Linked DNA regions of Homo sapiens: region 2 is linked to region 1. The links are contacts of gene promoters, found by promoter capture Hi-C in blood cells and fetal thymus (Javierre and others, 2016). All regions are on one chromosome and are shown on one strand. The core of a region is centred on a gene start or on the middle of the fragment in contact, and the rest is flanking DNA. Distances in the headings are between cores, read along the strand shown.

Region 1 (6,961 bases), core at 3,285-5,784:
GCAAATTAAGATCATGATGATGTATCACCACACGTCTATTAAAATTGCTAAAATAAAAATAGTGACAATACCAGATACTGGCAAGAATGTGGAGAAAATGGATTTCTCTTACACCGCTGACAGGAATGTAAAATGGTACCGACACTCCAGAAAATACTTTGGCAGTATCTTAAAAAACAAACAAACAAAATAAATATATATAGTCATCCTTGGTATCCATGGAGGATTGGTTCCAGAGCCTCCCAGGGCAACAAAATCCAAGATGATCAAGTCCTTCATATAAAATGGCATAATAATTGCTTATAACCTATGCACATCCTCCCCTATATTTTAAATCATCTCCAGATTATTTATACCTAATACAATGTACATGCTATATAAATAATTGTTATACTGTATTGTTTAGGGAACAGTGACAAGAAAAAAAAAGTCTGCACAAGTCCAGTACAGACAATGTTTTTTTGAAAATATTTTCAATCCCAGGTTGGCTGAATCCATTGATGTGGAACCCATGGATACAGAGGGCTAATTGTATTTACCATACGACCAAAGAAATGAAAAGTTACATGCACACAAAAACCTGAACACCAATTTTCATAGAAGCTCTATCTATAATAGCCAAAAACTAGAAATAATCAAAATGTCCTTTCTTATACGGGAATGATTCAATAGGTGAACCATGGTACATCCATACCATGGAACACTATTCGGCAATGAAAAAGAGGGATGGATCTCAGGGACATCACACTGAGTGAAAAAGGGCAATCTCCAAAGATCACATACTGTATGATTCAACTTATATAATAGTCTCAAAATGACAAAACAGGTTAGTGGCTGCCAGAGGACAGGGACAGTAGAGAGACAGAGGGAGTGCCTAAGGCTGTAAAGGGTTTGTGGTGGTGGAACAGTTCTGTATCTTGATTGTAGTGGTGGTTACACTAATCTACATATGATAAAATAGCATATAACTACATATACATTGTACCAATGTCAATTTCCTGGTGTTGATATTATACAATAGTTATGTAAGATGTAGCCACTGAGGGAAACTGGTAAAAGGTAAGGACTTGACTATGTTTGCAATTTCCTGTGAATCATTAATTATCTAAAAAAAAAAAACAGTTAAAATAGTTTCCAAAAATCTGAGGATAAGCGAAGGAAGGACATAGCTTTGTAAGTAACAAGAATCTGCCCACTCTCCTTATTAATCTTAGAGTTGTTTTAGGGACCATGCATAATAAAATAATAAAGGCCGGTTTTAAGTAAGTGCCTACAATGAGCCAGGCACTGCTGTAAGTACTTTCACACAATGCCCTATTTAATCCACACAAGTTCCTTATAAATGAAATACCACAACCCCATTTTATAGACAGGAAAAGTGCAGTTGAGAGAGGGTAAAGCAATTTGTTCAGGCTCACACAGTAAGTGTTAGAGCCATGATTTAAACTCAGATTAATACCAGAGGCATGCCTCCTGCATACCACTGTAACAATAAAGATGTTCAGAGGACAAAAAAGATATCAGTCAAACTATGTGCAAAAGCCTGGATTAAACAAAGTTAAACCAGTTTATTTTCTGTAGGGTTTTCAAAACTTTTAAAATGCCAGTTTGCCAATTCATGTTACATATGTAGAAGGCTACAGTACACAGTTTTTCTCAAATGTATTTGACCAAAAAATTCTTTTTCACCCAAAATATAGTTTGGGTATATAATCCAACAATCTCTCAGCCAAAAGTTAAAATGTTTAAATGGGCTTATCTTAACCCACTTCTCTTCTTCACATGTTGGCAAACTACAGATATTTAGAGTGGTGTTGTCCAGTGTGGTAGCCACTAGCCATATGTGACTAATTATAAATTAATTAGAATTAAATAAAATCAAAATTTCAGTTCCTCAATCATGCCACATTTCAAGTCTGTTCAGGAACCACATACGGCTACCATATTGGTCAGCACAAATACAGAAAATTTCCATCATCTGAGAAAGTTCTATCAGTCAGCATTAGGTCAGAAGTGTGTTTTTTAAAGAACATGGGGCCTGTGCAATCTTCAGAGAAAGATTGTAAATTATTACACATGTTATTGCCACTATCCCCCATAAAACGGGGCCAGGTCAGAGATCCTCGATGATATAAAGCCACTGTAATGTCAAAGCACAGGGAAAAGGTAAACAAAGGAGTGGAAAAAATGAATAGCAGGAAGAGAAAGCAACATCATGAAGCCTGGAGATGAAGCTTGAAGCAGGATTCAGGAGCCTGGGTTCTACTGCCTGTTATGCCAATATTCACCTTTTTAAAAAATATTTAATTTTTTTGCACTTCATGCGAATTAACTGTGATTTGATTGAACAGGCCTCTTTACTACTTTGGGCCTCAGTTTCCTTTTCTACAATACAAATTTAAGCCAGAGGATCACTAATTCCCTCTAGTTCTGTACAGTTAAAACACACACACACACACACACACACACACACAAGAAATGAGAAAGTAGGGAATAAAAGTAAAAATAAAAAGAGAGCAAGATCATTGCATATTGGTGGTGAAAACTGGCAGTCCTGTCATCTTGCCACAAGTTCTACTCCCAAGATTTGGATGCCACCAAATGAATAAAAATTTAATGCTATTCAATAAATACTTATTGAGCAATTATTTGCAACGAACTACAGTATTCGGAAATAGCACCACCAAAAAAAATGATTAGCCTTAAGACTCAATACGTGGAAAGAATGCAAGACTCACAAAACTTTAGGTTGAAAGATTGTCTCATTAACATGTAATAACCTAACTGGTCCAGTACTAAGAAACAAGTATTTCAAATATTCCTGAGGAAAAACAACTAGTAAATTATATAAAATAATATATAAAGTACAAACATACGGCATAATCAAAAGCATCACATTTCTTCCACAAAGAATATAAATAAATGCTACAGGTACTTGGGAACAGGAAGACATCAGTTCTGGCCAATCTAATTTTTCTAGAATCCACATTTAATTGGATACTCTGACATTTTCTAGTAAAATATTCTTGAGGGCTATTGGAATTAACAGATCCACAAAGTGTGCTAGACAGAATCAAATGCAACTGAAATTCCGGCCTCTACTATCTACTGCACAAATTCCCACTTTTCAGAGGCACTGTTGGTCCTATTTCCTAGTATCAAAGGGTAGAGAAAACCTTCCACATGCCTATTCTAAGAATTTAAATAGCTAATATGAAAACTTTAAAATGATTTTTACCTCTAGATTAAAAAGAACCAAGATAAACTGCGTCTGATATTTTACCTTGCAGAAGCTAAGTCAACCAGTGAGTCGTGTAACCTTTATATGAATTCCCTCCTGAAAGACTGGAACCATACCCCTGACTATTCTGGAGCAAGGGAGAGCAGATAACTAAAGCTCTCCAGCAAGCAAAACAAGGAGAAGGGATTTTAGGAACATGCCTTTTCTTTGGAAAGGCATTTTTTAGTACCCCACCTACTAATCTAACGCGGCGCGGAAACCTTGCAGAATTTGAAAACAAATGCTGAGAGGCTCCGGGGGACCGGTAAAGGGATTAGCAACTGACAGCTCGGCCTCGGAGCGAGAAGCCTCAAGTAGTTAGATCAAACCGTGTCAACGATCTGAAATCCAGGGTCCACCCCAGTGAGCTTAGAGAAGTACAGCAGCAGAAGGTAAGCAGGGGTTTGGCGTCTTTCAGTCCTAAAGATGCGGGATATCGGAACTGAGAGAGACCTAGAACCCAAGCCGGGCAGTTTGCCTGCTCTCACCTCTCTTGGGGGCTTTGATCAGAGGCACCCCTCCAGTCCTCTCGCCGTTTTCCTGCTTGTCCTTGTGCTTGAGATCGGTTCCGCAGGAGCTGGGATCACCATCGGGGCCGCGGTGGTGATGGTGCTTGTGCCGCTCCTTGTGGCCCTTATGCTTGGGCCCGGCCGCGCTCACCGTCAGAGGCGAGAAGGTGAAGAGGGCCGAGGTGCTTGGGGCCGGGAGAGGGGCAGCGACAGCGGGCCCGGCGGGTGCCAGCGAAGGTGGCGGCGGAGGCGGCAGGAGAAGAGGCTCAACAGGGCCTGGGACAGTTGGGGCTGCATTCGTTGGCGGCAGCGGCCCAGGATGTTGGCGGCTGCGACGCCGCCGGTGAGGGGGAGCGAGAGGGGGCTCCTGGCTCGGCCGCCCCCGCTTCTCCTGAGACCCCCCACTGCTAGATCGGCGCTGCCGTTTAACTCCCCGCGGGGAGACCCCAGCATGAGGTTTCTCCTTCCCCTCTTTGTCCGGCTCCTCCTGCGCCGCCACCGCCCGTACTACGCGCACCGCTCCGACCTGCGCAGCCATTTCACCCACAAACACACATTTAAATGGCCCGACCGCCCCCCCGTCCGCGCATCGCGCAAGCGCCGCCCGCGCACTGCCCGCTGGGCATTGGAGTCTCTCCTCCGCCCTCCACTTGTCGGCCGTTCTTCGTCCAGAGATGAACATGCCGGAAGCGGCCGTTCCCAGCTTTTCTCCGCAGGCCTCTCCAACCGAGCTTCTATTGTAAAGCACCCTATGCCGCGCAAAGCGTCATGGGAGCTGTAGTTCCGCCGCGCCCCCGCCGCGTCCCCGGCTCTGAGTGGAGGAGTGGAAAGGGAGCGTGCGCGAAGTCACGCTTCTGGCTGCGACGCAACCGCCGCTGGGCGGTGAGTTGCCGCCAACCGCCCTAACGGCCGAAACAATGTTAATGGCTTTCAGAGTCTGGCGGCGCGTTCCCATTATCATCTTCCTGTGACCCTTCCTCATTTTACACGGAGGAGGTGGTCTCCACAGTGATTTTAAATTTAATATTTCTCTCATAACCTTTGTGAGATAAAAGAATCTTCATCCTTTTAACTTTGACGAGGGATGAAATGAAGGTGAAAAGAGGATTTAGTAATATGTAAAATAAGGGTGGTTTTGCTGTAAAAATATGATAGGGCCGCAATTCAGAAATGTTTTCAAGCATCTGGGGCATTGCTATGGTTACAACTACAGGCCTACGAAGTCAGGTGCGAGAACTGCTTGGAGTCCTGGTGAGGACGGCCCCTCCTCGCCATCCGGCCACATCCCCTCTAATGCCTGGAAATGTCCAGCATTTATTTTGAATATATCCCTACAGTTGCGAAAAATTGTAGATGGAAAACCACGTTTAAGATTTTTTATAAGTTTTTTTTTTTCAAATCTTAAGGATAAGATTGCATAAATTTGAAAAGTGTGCCTACCGGAGAACACACCAAAAATCATCACTGCTCACTACGGATAGTTGTTGCTCAGAAATTCATTTAGAATTTCATCCTCGCTTTAGCTTTTACCTGGGGTTCTTTTAAGTATTTATTTAGAGACGGGCGGGGCGGGGCTCGGTGTCTCAGGCCGGTAATCCCAGAGCTTTGGGAGGCCGAGGCGGGAGGATTGCATGAGGCCAGGAGTTCCAGATCAGCGTTGGTAACATAGTGAGCCTCTGTCCCTACAAAAGTATTTTTTAAATTATCTGGGTGTCGTGACACGCGCCTGTAGTCCCAGGTACTCGTGAGGCTAAGGTGGGAGGAGTGGTCGCACCACTGCACTCTGGCCTGGGTGACAGATCTAGACCCTGACTCTTAAAAAAAAGAGACAAGGTCTCGCTCTGTTGACCAGGCTGGCCTCCAACTCCTGGGCTCAAGGAATGAGTAGCTGGGTCTACAGATGCACTCATGGTGCCCTAAGTAACTCATGGTTACCTAGAATTCTTTTAGTATATTTGTTTATTGATAAAGACATTTGGAAGTAATTGATTACAATGATATATACTCAGCAGATAAAATTACTGTGGTTTGATTTCACTAGTTTCTGGAGAAGTATTACCTAAACACTACTGCAATGAAGTCAGTTTAACAACCAAAAAGTTTATTGAGTGTCTGTTGGATACATTGTACTACAAGAGACAGATAATAATACTTCATTCAATTTGCCCTATTGGACTTCCAAATGAAAAATACTGAAGAACAAATGATGTTTAAACAATACTACATGTTTCTAAAAGTTATAAATAAAGTTATTTAAATAAAAATATTTTTAATGCATTAGGGGAAGTCAGGTGGATTCTTTGTAAAAACAATTACCTGCCAATTTATTTACTACATAAAATTAGAGTTGAACTAGATTTTCTTATGGCAGATCCATATTCATATAGAAATTCATTTTAAACTAGTATTTCTGATTGGTTAGATAAAAATTGCACATGATCTGAAAGATCCTGTATAAACATATACAATTTATATCTTTTGCTACCAAAAGATAGCTATTATATTTCATTGATTACTTTTCTAGAATTGGTAATTTAATGACTTTGGTTAAAACTTATCAGGATTTCAGTTGAATTCCTTGTTACATTCAAATAATTGTCATTATTTGCACATTTTATTCTAATAAATATAATTTCTCATTTTCTTAATATTCCAGTTTTCCACAACATTTGGGAAGATTTACAAGGTATACTCCATTTAGGCAAAAATAACTGTCAGGGAATAGTCATTGTCAAGAGCAGTTTGTATTGCAACCCACAAAGTAAGTTTTTTTTTTAACTTTTTATAGTATATTCTGGCAATGTAGAAATTAGTTGAGATCCAAATCTTACAAACCTTTTGAAGTTTATGTTTATGTAGAAAAGTAAAAGAAAATAAAAATAACTGGCAAAAATGAAAAATAAATCCATTCTAAAAGTGTTTCTCATATAGCATTCTGTACATAAGCTCAAGTGACAAACTTTTATTTGCAGTTTTCAACTCAATGCAAATGATATGAAAATGCAAAACTGGCACTTATTGGCATTTTGCTTTTCTTTTAAAAGCTATTAACACATTAGCATATCTTCATATTTGATATTATGCATATAGAGCACTTATTTTAACTAGCAGTATTCTAGTAGTTTTATTTGCAGGTGTACTTGCAGCCCATATTATTATAAATCTGGAGTTT
Region 2 (7,098 bases), core at 1,818-4,317, 940 kb after region 1:
ATTTACAGTTCCTGTCATAGGTCTCTATTTGACTACTATCACACACCTAGCAACTAGCACCCTAGCAACCGCCAAGTAATCCTGTTATTTTCTCACTCATCTGGGGCCTCAGTTTTCTCTTGCTTTGCTATGTTTCAAGTATGAAAATTATTGCATTCAGCAGAAAAAACTAGGAGCGCGACAGGAATTTTCTAGTTTTGCTTTTCTCTTGTCTGTCACCTTTAGACTAACCTGGATCAAATCATTCACCAAACAATTCAGGTCTATTTTCACATCTCAAACAAATGCTTTATAAGCCTTATTCTTTCTTGCCATTTTATGGCTAATTCTACCCTTCTATATATATTTGTTCCTAATTACGTACTATTTTTACTGATTTTACAAAACCCCCCTTTAAAATCTGGGGGTTCCATTGCATTACCAAATCTGTTTTCTTAGCTGTGTGCCCCCTTTAACTGAACTATTTCACAACTGTACAACCACAGCCATGTTTTACTGCCAATAATCTTCATCCCAATTGTGGTTTCTTTGTACATATGTAAACATGTAATTTTTAGACAGCTATGGATGCATTTATATATTAAAATGTTCATGTAGTAAACTAATATTCAGAATACAAAGATTACACTAAACAAAAAGGACTTCGTTAAATCTATTTCTATAAATCATGTCAATGAAATGAAAGCCTTAATATCTAATCTTGCCAGGCACGGTGGCTCATGCCTGTAATCCCAGCACTTTGGGAGGCCGAGGCGGGTGGATCACAAGGTCAGGAATTCAAAACCAGACTGGCCAACACGGTGAAACCCCGTCTCTACTAAAAATACAAAAATAAGCCAGGCATGGTGATGCGCGCCTGTAATTTCAGCTACTCAGGAGACTGAGGCAGAAGAATCACCTGAACCTGGGAGGCAGAGGCTGCAGTGAGCCAAGATCACCCCACTGCACTCCAGCCTTGGCGACAGAGCAAGACTCTGTCTCAGAGAGGAAAAAAAAAAAAATCTAATCTTTTATGCTTCAGAACATAAAATTGTGGTTTCAATTTGTGTTAATCTTCCCTATCTAATCCAACAGAATCCACAACAATTAGTCTAAAATTATTTTTTAAAAATCAGCTAAGGTAAGAAGAAACAAATAGAAAAACTAAATGCTACAATTACCTTAAAATTAAATAACAGTGTCTGTTTATGAGACATAGATAATTTTACTATAGTTTTTAGTTGTTAAGGAATAATTCTAGTGCACAGCAAGGTCACTGACACTATTACATAATCCTTCAATAAATTGGAAATAAAGTCCTAAGCGCTTCTTGAAATAGCAGTGAAGCTTTTGTAACTGAATGACTTATTTTCATTCTTCATTTTATTTGACCTCTGTAGCATCTAAAAAAATGTTTACCATTGACTTCCTGAAATTATCGTTGGTGCTTTTTCCTGACTTCTATGTCTTTGCTCTCTTCATTGGTGCTTCTTCCTTTTATTACCTATACACTGATGACTCCTTTCTGAATTCCTTTATGTCTAACTTTAGAAAATCTGGAAACTAAAGATTAAAAAGGAAAATTGCTCTTCATAAGCCTACCCTCAAAGTTAACCACTGTTCAATATTCCATACTAGTGTATTTCCTTCAACTTCAGATTGCTATCTAATGAACACAATAGATTTCCATAACATATTTTAATATCAGTAAGTTACTACTCTAACTTCCCTATTCCTATGAACAATGAAGGTTTCTAGTTTGCACAACTGGATTTGATAAAGCCATTCTCTCCACATTTATCTTCAGATTCAATTGGTCCCCAAGTCCTCACTTCTAAATCATCAGAACACCTAGCACCTACCTTTTTCTCTACCTACACCTTAGCTTTTATCTTCCTTATACTTGATCCACTGCTTTTGACAGGTCTTCCCATCCTCAGCCTTTCCCTCAAAAGTGTCACCATTTGTCTTTTAAAGGTACACTTCTGAATATTACTTTAAAATGTGAAGCAATAAAGCTATCTTACTTTTGGGGGAAAAACCCTTAAGCCCTTGCTTATAGACATCTGATGGCTCTCCTACGGAATAAAGACAAATGCATTGGGCCAAGCCTCCAGCAAACTTCCCTTTCATAACTCTCCCGCAAAATTATATTCTCTACTCTGTTCATAATGAACAACTTAATATATACCATGTGCTTTCACGTAGCCCTGAATCTGCTAATTCTGTTACCTCTATACCTCTACCAATGTCTCTTCTACCTCTTAACAAGGTACTACTCACCTTCAAATATCCCTTTTCTGTAGGCTTTCTTTACCCTCCTCCTTACCTCCAAGGGAACAGCTTCAGTTATATTCTTAATATTTTATTAGTATCTTTTAGCCTATATTGTGATATTGTGTAACAAATTGTTCTAAATCATTAAGTCCATTAGTATCTTATTCATTCGTTATATTTCAGCACTAGCAATGCCTAACAATACAGTAGGCATGTCAACCATTTACAAATGTGCACTGTATACCGTTCACAAATATGCACTGCAAATGTAGGCATGGATATAAAGTAAGGTTCTTTCCTCAAGAAGCTAACATTGAAGACAGTAGAGAGAAAGAAACAGACGTCAGTAGCAAATATCACCAAAGTTTCACAGACCCTCATAGAAAGACTGCAATGCACATTCTTATTTGAAATCCTAACTTCTAAATAGTACAGACGGAGCTTCTCTAAGAGACCAGCAAGTCGAGAGATCAGCATGTATTAATATAATCTGGTATGAAAAATGTTTGACCATAAATACTGTCCTTATCTAACAAGAGATAGTGTTGATATTTCATACTAGTTGAGAATAGAAAAACTGTCTTCTGAATACCTTTAGAAAAGAACAAATAAAGATTTTATATTTGACCAAATAATCAGGAAATCTAGAATTATGGAACTGATTCTTAATAGGAAATTACAAACCTACCTCGCAGTGATACTCAAATATTGCACTTTCAGTAGTATTTGCTGATTCTTCTTTTTCAGCACACGTTTCAAAGGATGAAAGTTGCTAGTATTAAAAAAAAGAGCGAGAGAAAATGATCTACCAAGCTAATAAAGAATACAACTGCTGCTGTACCGGGCAATCTCACAGTACAGCACTGAAGAAAACAAAGACTACTAGCAGCGTTGGGAAGTGCTCTTTCAAAGCTGTTGAGTAGGCACAAACTTCTTGTTTCAGATCAAGTGTTGTGTCTTCAACTTAAGTGTACTCTTCTTTGGTCTTGTTAGTTGTTACGAGGTTTGTTCCTTGCCTGATCTGAACTTGAAGCAGCAGTTTCAGGTGGTAAAGTCTGTTCTGTTACACTTCATACTAAAGGTAAAAAATGAAGACATTAAGTATAACATACATAAAATAATCAGGGACAGTGGGTGAGAAGAGGGACAAACTCATTTCATTAACTTAGAATCATGGGTCATGCAAGTAATGCAGGAAACTTGGAAGCATGCTCATCTGATGTTATTTGGAGCAATCTCTCAAGTACTAGCAACTACCTCCTTTGGTATCTCATACCCAAGACCTCAAATTATTCCATAGTCTTTATTGACCTCTTCCCCCAAATAAGCTCAGTTACATGGCATAATGTTTAATTTAGTGCAAGTATTTTATAAGGATCTAGCTCTGTGGAAAACATAAAAGAAGTCCCTGCCATGAGAGCATAGACAATCTTGCTGAAAAGACAAGATGTAAACATGGAAAAAAAAAACAGAGTATAGGACAAAAATGCCAAAAATTATTTTGCTCAATTAGTATCTAGGTATCTATTATGTCACAGACTATCTAGAAATATTATTTATTGTTTATCCACAACTGCATGTCCATCAAAGCAACCAAGGCTTTTAAATAAGTGGAATTTGAAGTGAACCTGGAAAATCAGGCAGAATTCTAGGAGAAAGAAAATAGCTGAGTATTCTAGGCATGAAACAGCACATAAGTCAAGCGAGAATATGCCACTAAATTCTTTCTTCAGAGCAGCGACCATGCATTCTATGATTTTCTAAGCCCAGCATCAAGTGAAGTCTTCTGCATGAATGCCTGTGGCAACATGTGTGGCTTGTTGTTTCAGAGGAAAATCAACAGGCTAGCCTGGCTAGAACAGAGAGCTGGGCTGAAGTGAAATAGGATATGTAGTGTGACAGGTGTAGCGGAGCCCGATTATGAAGCATTTCAACGTGATGTAACAGGAAACAGTGCCTTAGTTTTTGATGAAAGTGGTATTAAGTCTTGAAATCCTAAAGGAGATGACTTAGTAAGCAAACAGAAATCTCATTTGCACTGCTGCAGTAAATAGATGAGAAATGTCTATAGAAGAGAAATAAAATTTATTTATCAGTAAAAATCACATTTCTGCTTTATATTAGCTATAAAATAAACAACAATTTTGCACTGACTCCAAAGTTACAAAATGGTGTTAACGAAAATTATTTCTACAGAGATAAGAAAAAGGTGTACGTGCTGAGAAATGGATATTTGAAAACATCAGAAGAATGATTATCAGGTGAGAGGTCAGAGCTGATTAAATAGCTCAGACCAGAAGAGCCTAATCGCAATCACTGGTACTAGTAAATACCATGAACAAGTTATTTAATCTCTCTAAGTTTCACTTTCCTCACATGTAAAATAAAAACTCAATAACAGCTGATCTGGCCATTTTCTATTCTCTAACATCCCATGTTCCTTCAAATATCAAATGTTACATACACTTGTCTGATCTTTCAACTTTATTTAGATCATTCTCCTATTACCCAGACTAGATATATGTCTCAGGGTAATGGTGCTCAAATACTTGGGAAGCTTTAAAAAAAAAAAAACAAAAACAAACCTATGCCCAGCCTCCACTCAGAGTAATACAACTGGTTTGAGGTAGGGCCACTTCTTTAACTATCTTGATTCTTCCCCTCTCCATCACCATACCCAATGTTGCAAGTTGTGTTAGTATTTCCCTCGCTATATCTTTTGTATTCATCTCTTATCCTACTAAGTGACATATTTTAGCTCAGGTGTCTAATATATCCGCCAACTTCCAGTGTGCACACTTTCCATTTTCTGTCACATACCACCACCAGACTATCAAAAACTTGAATTTTGGCCAGGTGAGTTGGCTCACGCCTGTAATCCCAGCACTTTGGGAGGCCTTGGCAGGAGGTCTGCTTGAGCCCAGGAGCTCCAGACCAGCCTGGGCAACGTGGAGAAACCCCATCTCTACTAAAAATACAAAAAATTAGCCAGGCATGGTGGTATACGCCTGGAGCCTCAGCTACTTAGGACTGGGAAGTCAAGGCTGCAGAGAACAAGATAGTGACACAGCACTACAGCCTGGGAGACAGATCAGAACCTTGTCTCAAAAAACAAAACAAAACAAAAACTCTCCAATTTCATTTCTCATCTCCCCTGTCAAACATCTTCAGTTATTTTTCCACCATTCTAGATGGGAAGTTTTTAATCCTGGCTATCCACCCACCCCCAGCAACCTTAAACAAACAAACAAACAAAAACCAACAAAATCAAAGCCTGAGTCCCGTACAAAGATTCTAAATTTAACTACACTAGGTTAGGTGCCAGGCCTTGTTATCTCCCCCCAACCCCTGCTCCAAGTGTTTCTGACTTCCAGCCAGGATTAAGAACTACTATTCCAGGTGTCTCTATTCTACCTTCCATCCTTACTCTCTACTGTGTTCCAGTTCTACCAGAAGTCCATTACCTCGCCTAATCCTTAAACACAACTCTTGGGAGATTCCTGAATTCTAGCCACCTTTGCTTATATGGGTCTTCCCACAAAAAAATACTATGTTGTGATCTTCAAGGTGACAAAAAAGCCTTTCTTGACCATTCCAGCAGACTCATTCATTAATTCCTACTAATGAATGGGGCAGTAACATCCACTGCCTGCACCAAGCAATTTGCAGCAAGTGATACCAAGCAATTTCTGTACTTTGTTTACTTCATGTTTTTATGTATCTTGTTCCTCCAATTCTATTTCAAATTTCTGAGAGGTAAACTCAAATTTCTTTATCACAGCCTCCTTTCGCACCTAATCCAGTGCTGCCATATACAACCAAAGGAAAAAGGTAGTTAATCCTTAATAAGCAAAAGGACGCCACAATTCAAGTGTAAACAGTTATGCCACAATTCAAGTGTAAACAGTTATACCACCTTTAATTATATAGTTTTAATTATCCAATCAAGAAATAATCTCTTCTTTAAAAAATACAGACTGTGTATATTGGTTTTATCTTAATGCTTTAGGTGTATTAATGAACCCAAAGAACTCAACATGGAGAAAACAAGTTATCTTGAAACACTTGAACTGGATTAACCCATTCCAGGTTGTCGTATCACATTAAGAACTGTCAAGTCCAAGATTCAGTAACACAAAAAAAGAGATTTCTGGAACTGAAACTCTGGAGTACTGCAGGGCCATTCTTAGGCACTAATGAGGTCTATTAGGAGCTATTAAAGCTCAAACGAACCCACCAACAGTCATGAATAATTTACTGGCCGAATTAACATCTTCACAGCTTCTATAGTTAACTAAATGTTTTTCAATTAAATTAACACTTACTGAAGAACTTAAAGGTATTGGTCAGGCAGTTTAATATAAATAGCTATCCACTCATGCCCGGATTAACATTAATTGGTGCTACTAACCACCTCTTTTGCCTTAACCCTAGGAACACAAGTGCATCTCCTCCATCCCCCTAAAAGCTTGAAACTTAAGTTGCATGAAACACTGGGTATTGGGCTGGGGTGGTGGCTCTCGCTTGTAATCCCCAGCACTGTGGCAGGCCAAGGTGGGAGGATTGTCTGAGACCAGCCTGGGCAACATGGTGAGATGCTGTCTCTACAAAAAATTTTAGAAATAAAAAATAAATTCACTGGGTGTGGTGGCATGCACCTGTAGTCCCAGCTACTCGGGAAGCTGAGGCAGGAGGATCACTTGAATCCAGGAGTTTGAGGCTGCAGTGAGCTATGACTGTGCCACTGCACTCTTGCCTGGGCGACAGAGTAAGACGCTGACTCAAAACAATCGCCCCCACAAACCCACCATAGGGTACCAATAAAAACACTAGGGAACAATT

Evidence for each region. The method cuts DNA at HindIII sites, captures the fragments that hold promoters and counts their contacts. A CHiCAGO score of 5 or more calls a contact.
Region 2: a fragment that was not itself captured here is called in contact with the fragment with the promoter of RSBN1 in region 1 in 1 of 17 cell types (total CD8 T cells); the score reaches 5.4 in total CD8 T cells.

What each region holds. Positions count from the first base shown.
Region 1 is chr1:113,807,942-113,814,902 of GRCh38, forward strand. RSBN1 (round spermatid basic protein 1) reads right to left here and starts at 4,535. Exons shown (of 7, transcript NM_018364.5): 1 at 3,769-4,535. The coding sequence starts at 4,471. AP4B1-AS1 (AP4B1 antisense RNA 1) reads left to right here and starts at 4,671. Exons shown (of 5, transcript NR_125965.1): 1 at 4,671-4,884; 2 at 6,446-6,550. It overlaps PTPN22 (protein tyrosine phosphatase non-receptor type 22), which reads right to left. Exons shown (of 21, transcript NM_015967.8): 21 at 5,870-6,961. RefSeq lists enhancers at 3,346-3,875, 3,600-3,659, 3,810-3,899, 3,876-4,405, 4,280-4,669 and 1 more. The HindIII fragment of the contact is 4,966 bases long and covers 2,233-6,961 here.
Region 2 is chr1:114,746,877-114,753,974 of GRCh38, forward strand. CSDE1 (cold shock domain containing E1) reads right to left here. Exons shown (of 20, transcript NM_001007553.3): 2 at 2,945-3,331. Among named protein-coding and RNA genes, the nearest start is that of CSDE1, 7.6 kb to the right of the region's middle. The HindIII fragment of the contact is 3,487 bases long and covers 1,325-4,811 here.